Regions from separate parts of the Homo sapiens genome. Here region 2 is linked to region 1. Evidence: promoter capture Hi-C in human tissues and cell types (Jung and others, 2019). All regions are on one chromosome and are shown on one strand. The core of a region is centred on a gene start or on the middle of the fragment in contact, and the rest is flanking DNA. Distances in the headings are between cores, read along the strand shown. Region 1 holds the start of PDE6D (phosphodiesterase 6D). Region 2 has its middle 6.2 kb from the start of TEX44.

Region 1 (4,314 bases), core at 951-3,450:
ACCACATTCAGCCAGAACGGCTACAATTAAGAAGACTGACAACAAAACTCTTGTGTTGACAAGGATAAGAGGCACCTAGAACTCTCTCATATTGCTGGCAAAGGCGTAAATTGGTACAATCATTTTGAAAAACTGGCAATGTCTACTATCACTGATCATGTGCATACCCTCCCTACACACTAGCAATTCCTCTCCTAGAAATGTGTGCAAGTGTCTACAAAAAGAAACATGTAAGAATGCTCACTACGGCTTTGCTAATAATAGTCCAAAAAATAACAACCCAAATGCCCGCCAACAGTGGAAAAGATAAATTGTGGTATAAACATACAACAGAATACTATTCAGCAATTAAAAGGCTACACACAACATGGATGAATTTCACAAAAATACTGATAAAGTAAAAAAGCCAGACACATACTGTACATACTGTATTATTATATTTAACTGGAATTCAAGAACAGAGAAAACTGATCTATGGTGATACAGTCAGAAGAGTGATTATCTCAATATGTAAGGATGTAATACTGATTGGGAGGGAGCACTAAGTGTGCTAGAAATGTTCTATATCTTGATTTGGGTAGTGGCGACAGGGGTGTATACCTATGTGAAAATTGTTCCCATACTGTATGTTACACCTCATTAACAAAAAAAAAACTTTTTTAACATGGAAAAAAAATTCAAGTTCAAATGCCACCTTGTCCATTAAAGTTTTGCCAGCTGCAATGAACCTTTTCATCAGGGCCTCCTTAGCATTCTGATGTCATTTCTTTATGCCATTTTATCACACTCCATCTTGAATCTCAGTGGAGTCTCCTTATTTCCCTAAATATATGTTCATCTTCCTGGTGGCAGTGACCATGTCCTTCACCTTTTACCCACTCAGTGCCTGACAAATAACAGGCTGAAAAGATATTTGTTGAATTACATGGAAGAAAAAATTGGGTGAGTTCCCAGATGGGTGAAAGTGGGGACAGGCAGAGGAAGGAAGGCCAAGAGAAGGACAGAGGAGGTTTCCAAGGAAACCGTGGCTCACACTGTAATTTTACCTACTTCCTGAAATCACATTAAATGTCACCTTGAGTGGCAAAAAACAAAACACCAAATCCTACCTAGGCTGAAAATAAATAAATATCACACTCCCTCACTCGCAAGAAATCCACCAAATAAATGCTACCTAATTCTGGGTGTTTCAACAGTGGATAGGAAAACCGTTCAAGGAGAATAATTCACATTGCCATGCTGCTAAAAATATCACCTCCTTAGTGTGGTGCAAAGAGTCCAGACTGCAAGTCAGCCGACTTAGGGCTGAATTCTAACTCTGCCCGAACTTGCTGTGATCTGTGGCCAATCCCTTCGCCTCTCTGGGCCTCAATTTCCTCATACGTAACAACAGGGGATAGATTAGCAAAGTCCCTTTATGTTTTGATATTCTGAGTATACAATCCATAGCTCTCCCGGTGCAAACCAGGAATACAGCAAAAAACCCTGAAATACATGTAAAAGGCGCCTCAGACCAACAAACAAGCACGATTTGAAGAAGTCATTTTGTTCTCTTTCACGGTTTAATCAGTGTTTTTGTTTGTTGTTTGCAGCCTTACCATGATTTGCAGATGTCTGAGTTCCATGTAAACAGAAGTTAACTCTCTGCGGGCTGTCATCTTCTTTTGAGGGTGAGAAGGGTCTTCCCGTTGGGTTTCAAGTCTCGGGATTCCGAAACGACCAACTCAGCGGGCGGGTTTGTGAATTTGCGCACACTGCGCGGCACACTGGAGTCTAAGTTACAGAGGAACCGAGTGCAGGGGATGCTGGGATTTGTAGTCCCCGGGCCTCTTTGTGGTGCGCTGGGATCTGTGGTCCCCCGAGTGCGCCGCTGGAATGCTGGGAAATGTAGTCTCTGTCGCGTCGCACAGTGCAACTCAGCTGCCGTCTCAGACGGCTAGTGTGCTCAGTGGCTGGAGCAGGTCCCTAAAGCCTCTGCAGATCCGAAGCCAACCCTCCGCTGGGACAAACTCTAGGCAACAACACCAGATGAATATTGTGTCCTATGGGACTTCCCGGGGAGGGCCCTTCCCATTGACGTTAACAGTCCCCCTGCGAAGCCGCTGCGCGCTCCTACTGGCTGGTTGAGATGCCAATCGCCAAGGCTGGCTTTCCATTGGTTCCAGGAGGGCACTGCGAGGCTAGGGGGAAGGAGAAGGGATCAGAAGCGGGAGCTGAGGGGAGAGAGAGGCCGGTCCTGGTCTGGCCGCTGCGGCTGCTAGCCCGAGGTCTCCAAGCCGGGCTGCGGCTCCATCCTCGGCTCCTGGGCACCGTCTGCGAGGCTCCGCCGACCAGAGTGAGAAAGCCGCGGGCGGCGACCGCCGCATCATGTCAGCCAAGGACGAGCGGGCCAGGGAGATCCTGAGGGGCTTCAAACTGTATCCGTCCGGGAGCGGGGCGGGGCCGGGAGGACTTGGGAGGCGGCCGCTCACTGAGGAGACTGGCCGGGGGCGGGGGCCGCGCCAGGTGGGCCCCACAGAAGAAGGGCCGCGGGAGGGGAGAGGAAAGGAACAGCGTGCCGAGCACCCGGCGGGACCCGGCGCGAGAGGCGCCCCAAGGGGCGTCCTGAGGGAGGAAGGGGACGTTGACGGGAGCGCCGGGGGGTGGCGGGTGGAGACGGGGGAGCCTGGGGGACGGGGCTGCGAGAGGTGCCGGGCGTCGGAAACGCTGTCGGAGAAGCCGGCTGGGTTCCGATCCCCGGCCGGGACCCAGAGGCCGGGATGGGGCTGCGGCCCGCGGAGAAGGGCTGAGGGGGCGCGGTGGGCTGATCTCGAAGCCTAGAAGCCTCTTTGGCTATAAGCCTACCCGGGGAGCGGGGAACAGTGACTTGGAGCGGGCGACCTTGTGTGGGACAAATACCAGTGCTTTTAAAACTCTCTCAGGTCCCCCACCGCACCGCACCGCACCCCACCCCCGTCTGGTTTCCACAACTTCTCTTCCAAACTTGTGGCTTCTTCCAGGACTGGAGTAGTTGGGGGAGGTGGGGAAAGAGAAGTCCAAGATCGACCTCGTCTTAACACTCTTGGCCTTCTCAGGCATTGGTCACTGCTTCCCCCTCAGCGCCTCAGTTTTCTTTCCAGCAAGATGAGGACCATAGGCTTAGGTGTGGGGTGCCTCGCGCTGGGACTCCTAGCCGAGGTGTCTTTGCTCGCTCCTGTCGGTGCGGTTATGCCTAGCTGTGGTGGAGCTGTCCAGCAATGGTGTGATGTCGCTGGGGCCACGGTAGGATAGAGTGGGGTAGAGAAATCATTGCCTCGGGCCTGTTGTGGTGCCCCTTTTGCATCCTCTCCGTAAGGAAGCTTTGTGTTTTCGTGGAGTGTGTTAGTCTGTCACCATATGATGCAGATGAAAAAATGCAAACTTGGATATTCAAATTTTCCATTCTCCTGCCAACTTTAATCTCTTCATGCATCCTATCTGTAATCTATAGTACGAACGTTCTTAAATTGCTCCCTCAGTGAAAAGGTAGTCACCACTTCAGGGCTCCTCCCTTGGAGGTTTAGTAAAGCACTGTTTTCTTGGTATTCTGTTGCGTTTTCACAATGTCCATGTCACGCTTGCAAATTTAATTGCTTTGCTATAATCAGAAACCAAGTTGGTAATACATTTTAGACCACAGTGCAAAAAGGAAGTTTTGGATGTACAAGTGAGATTTTTCGAATGGAAATTGATCTATGCTTTTTAAAAAAACTAAAGGCTGTATCACCTTTGCATACTACCATCTGTGATAAACTTTCAGTACTTTCATGTTTTGGTTTAGTAGCAGCCTCTTTTATAGCTCCATGTGCCTTTCTGTGTTTCTCTCCATAATGGATCAAATAGGTATATAGGGATGACTGAAGTGCTGGAAAAGCTATGACATGGATTTTATTTTTCCCTCAAATAATTTATACTATTAACATCTAACAATGTAATAATATTGCTACTTAACATGCTTTGTAGACAGTAAACCGGAAACTGGAGAATTGAGAGATTTCAGAAGCAACGTTTTCATCTGATTGGAAATACCGTATTGCTGAAAAGAAGAAAGGCCTTTTTAATGGCTTTTGAACAAAGCAGAAAAGTTTGAGCTTCTCACCTTCAGTCTTAGCTCTTGAACCTGTTGAGAAAGAGGATAAGAGACAAATACGGAAAAGAGTTTCAGAAAGCAGAATCTGTGTCAGCCCACTGGAAGGAAAAGCGAATCAACCGATTCAGTGATGTTAGTGCATCCAGAAACAGGCTTTTGGGAAAAGCTTGACCTGAGCTGATTAAATCCTGAAGCACAAGGGAAGC
Region 2 (4,314 bases), core at 922-3,421, 190 kb after region 1:
CAGGGGTTATTTCCCCATTTTTCAGATGAGGAAACTGAGGCTTAGAGAAGCCAAGCACATAGCAAGGTCAGTGGCATCTGCCTGACTCCAAAGCCCCACACCCCACACAGCTCCCTGCTTTTAGTTAGAAAGTTCTCCCCGCTCCCTATCTTTACCCAGGAAATAAAAACCTATATATGACTTAATTTTTTTTTTTTTTTGAGATGGAATCTCACTCTGTCACCCAGGCTGGAGTGCAGTGGCACGATCTCAGTTCACTGCAACCTCCGGCCCCCGGGTTCAAGCGATTCTCCTGCCTCAGCCTTCCAAGTAGCCGGGATTACAGGCGCCTGTCACCGAGCCTGGCTAATTTTTGTATTTTTAGTAGAGACGGGGTTTCACCATCTTGGCCAGGCTGGTCTTGAACTCCTGACCCGTGATCCACCTGCCTCTGCCTCCCAAAGTGCTAGGATTACAGACGTGAGCCACTGTGCCTGGCTGACTTAATGTTTTGTTGTACATTAGACTGTGAAATAATCACTACAATCAAGCTAATTAACATATCCCTCACCTCGTATAGTTTCCATCTCCCTCCCTCCCTCCCTCCTTCCCCCACCCTCCTTCCTTCCTCCCTCCCTCTTTCTTTTCTTTTTTCTTTCCCTTCCCTTCCCTTCCCTTCCTTTCCCTTCCCTTCCTTTCCCTTCCCTCCTTTTCCCTCCTCTTCTCTTCTCTTTTCTTTCTCTTTCTTTCCTCTTCCCCCTTCTCTCTTTTTTCTTGTTTTCTTTCAACAGGGTCTCACTATGTTGCCCAGGCTGGAGTACAGTGGTACAATCATAGCTCACTGCAGCCTTGACCTCCTGGGCTCAAGGGATCCTCCCACCTCAGCCTCTGAGTAGTTGGGACTACAGGTGTGTGCACCATGGCTGGCTGATTTTTAAATATTTTGTAGAGATGGAGTCTCACTATGTTGCCCAGGATGGTCTTGAACTTCTGGGCTCAAGCAATCTGCCTGCCTTGGCCTCCCAAAATGCTGGGATTACAAGCATGAGCCACCGCACCTGGCCATTTTCTTTCTTTCTTACTTTGTGTGTGTGTGTTGAGAATAGAAAGTTTCTGATGTCCCCTCATGTGGCCCACTAAAACCATCATGCACCTTATAGGCACCAAGGACAAACTCTGTATTTGGAATTCAGCTTTTGATTCTACATGTTGCACTTTATGTTGACCCTTGTTACATTTCATATGCTTGGGCCAGGCATGGTGGCTCACGCCTGTAATCCTAGCACTTTGGGAGGCCGAGGCGGGTGGATCACCTGAGATCAGGAGTTTGAGACCAGCCTGACCAACGTGGATAAACCCCATTTTACTAAAAATACAAAATTAGCTGGGCTTGGTGGTGCACCTGTCATTCCAGCTACTCAGGAGACTGAGGCAGGAGAATTGCTTGAACCTGGAAGGCGGAGGTTGTGGTGAGCCGAGGTTGCACCATTGCACTCCAGCCTGGGCAACAAGAGTGAAACTTCATCTCAAAAAAAAAAAAAGTTTCATATGCTTGAAAATCGTGCCCAAGGAAGGCTACAGTGGAATGAATAGGCACTGATGTCAAAGGCAGAGAGATTTATTAAAATTGGGGAACAAAAAATAAAGGATTATTTATTTGTAAATAAATATTAAATGAGATCAGTATAGAACAAAATATATTTATTCTGTTATGTGGACAATATATATTTTAGATATATTCTGTACATAAATAAAATACAAAATAAAATATATATGAAAGTTTTCTCCATCTTAGTTAAAAACTTTCCTACTTTTATTTTTTTTTTTCTGGTGAAAAGATATATATATATTTAGAATTAGCCAGCTGGACTCAGTTTAGATGATCCCTTTTTTTTTTTTTGAGATAGAGTTTCACTCTTGTTGCTCAGACTGGAGTGCAATGGCGCGATCTTGGCTCACCGTAACCTCCTCCTCCCGAGTTCAAGTGATTCTTCTGCCTCAGCCTCCCGAGTAGCTGGGATTACAGGCATGCGCCACCACGTCCAGCTAATTTTGTATTTTTAGTGGAGATGGGGTTTCTCCATGTTGGTCAGGCTGTTCTCAAACTTTTGACCTCAGGTGATCCGCCCGCCTCAGCCTCCCAAAGTGCTGGGATTACAGGCGTGAGCCACCGCGCCTGGCTTTTTTTTTGTTTTTTTTGAGACAGAGTCTTGCTCTATGGCCCAGGCTGGAGTGCAGTGATGTGATCTCAGCTCACTGAAACCTCTGCCTCCTGGGTTCAAGTGATTCTTCTGTTTTAGCCTCCTGAGTAGCTGGGACTACAGGAGCGCACCACCACACCTGGCTTATTTTCTTGTATTTTTAATAGAGACAGGGTTTTGCCATGTCGGCCAGGCTGGTCTCAAACTCCTGACCTCAGGTGATCCACTCTCCTCGGCCTCCCGAAGTGCTGGGATTATAGGTGTGAGCCACCGTGCCCAACCACATGATCTCATTTTTGTTGGCAACATCCAAAGCATCATAATCAGCAGCCAGTTGAACATATGCCTTCTTCTCTCCATCAGGCCTATTCAGGGTGTTGACCACTGCCACGTCGATGTCATAGAGCTTCTTCACAGCCTGTTTGATCTGGTGCTTGTTGGCTTTAACATCCACAATGAACACAGTGTGTTGTTGTCGTCTGTCTTCTTCGTGGCCAACTCAGTGGTCAGCGGAAACTTGATGATAACACAGTGGCCAAGCTTATTTCTCCCAGGGATGCTCTTCTGGGAATATCTGGGCCGCCTCCAGAGTCGCAGTGTCTTGGGCCGCTGGAAGGTGGGTGACGTGCAGATCTTTTTTTTGTGGCTGTGGATACCTTTCAGCTCTGCCTTCTTGGCCTTCAAAGCCTTTGCTTTGGCTTCAGCTTTAGGAGGGGCAAGAGCTTCCTTCTTTGCCTTTGGCATCATCTTGTAAAAAGAGTTCTCTACCTTTATTAAGTAGTTCTCATAAGAGGAAATTCGTCTCAAATAATTTGCCTTTGCTTTCTTTTCAATTCCTTTCTCTCTCTCTCTCTTTTTTTTTTTTTTTTTTTTTTTTTTTTTGAGATGGAGTCTCACTCTGTCACCCAGGCTGGAGTGCAGTGGCATGATCTCGGCTCACTGCAACCTCTGCCTCCCAGGTTCAAGCGATTCTCATGCCTCAGCCTCCCAAGTAGCTGGGACTACAGGCATTTGCCACCACACCTGGCTAATTTTTTTTTTTTTTGAGATGAAGTCTTACTCTTGTCCCCCAGGTTGCGGGCTGGAGTGCGGTGGCGTGAGTGATCTTGGCTCACTGCAACCTCTGCCTCCTGGGTTCAGGCAACTCTCCTGCCTCAGCCTCCCAAGTAGCTGGGATTACGGGTACCTGCCACCATGCCCGGCTAATTTTTGTATTTTTAGTTGACATGGGGTTTTGCCATGTTGGCCAGGCTGGTCTCGAACTCTTGACCTCAAGTGATCCGCCTGCCTCAGCCTCCCAAAGTGCTGGGATTTACAAGCATGAGCCACCGTGCCTGGCCCTCAACTCCTTTCTCTTGGGGAGAATGACTCTCGAATTAAATAATTAAATACTCTTATTTTAGGGTAAACTCAGTTTATGGAATATTATGAAGCTGTATAAAGCCTGTACAGAAACATGGAAAAAGATTGTTATATAATGTTACTTTAAAAAGCAGGAGGTTGGGCGTGGTGGCTCACACTTGTAGTCCCAGCACTTTGGGAGGCCAAGGCGGGAGGATTATTTGAGTCCGGGTGTTCGAGGCTACAGTGAGCTGTAATTGCACCACTGCACTCCAGCCTAGGCAACAGAGTGTGACCCCATCTCAAAAAATAAGGCTAGATATGGTGGTTCATGCCTGCAATCCCAGCATGTGGGAGGCCAAGGTGGGTGGAAGGAGACCAGCCTGGGTAACATGAAGAAACCCCATCTCTCCAACAACAACAAAATTAGCCGGACGTGGTGGTGTGCACCTGCGGTCCCAGCTCCTCTGGAGGCTGAGGTGGGAGGGAGGATCACTTCAGCCTGGGAGGTAGAGGTTGCAGTGAACTGAGATCATGCTACTGCACTCTAGCCTGGGTAACATTTATTACTGCGTCAATAAATAAATAGATAAATAAATAAAATTAAAATACGAAAATAAAAAAATTAGGACCAGGTGTGGTGGCATGCACCCATAGTCCCAGCTACTCAGAAGGCTGAGGCAGGAGGATCACTTGACCTGGGAGGTTGAGGCTGCAGAGAGCTAGGATAGCACCAATGCACTCTAGCCTGGGAAACAGGGTGAGAACCTGTCTCAAAAAATAAAATATTTTA

The links. Contacts are between HindIII fragments. The study calls those that stand out against the background at their distance.
Region 2: a contact is called between a fragment that was not itself captured here and the fragment with the promoter of PDE6D in region 1, in 2 of the 25 tissues and cell types used here (H1 embryonic stem cells and IMR-90 fibroblasts).

Annotation. Positions count from the first base shown.
Region 1 is chr2:231,779,168-231,783,481 of GRCh38, reverse strand. It overlaps PDE6D (phosphodiesterase 6D), which reads left to right and starts at 2,200. Exons shown (of 5, transcript NM_002601.4): 1 at 2,200-2,417. The coding sequence starts at 2,368. It also overlaps a transcript of COPS7B not described here. RefSeq lists enhancers at 2,174-2,403, 2,954-3,033 and silencers at 2,614-2,663, 2,787-3,010. The HindIII fragment of the contact is 5,328 bases long and covers 1-3,806 here.
Region 2 is chr2:231,584,477-231,588,790 of GRCh38, reverse strand. It overlaps the pseudogene RPL23AP26. Among named protein-coding and RNA genes, the nearest start is that of TEX44, 6.2 kb to the left of the region's middle. The HindIII fragment of the contact is 4,173 bases long and covers 85-4,257 here.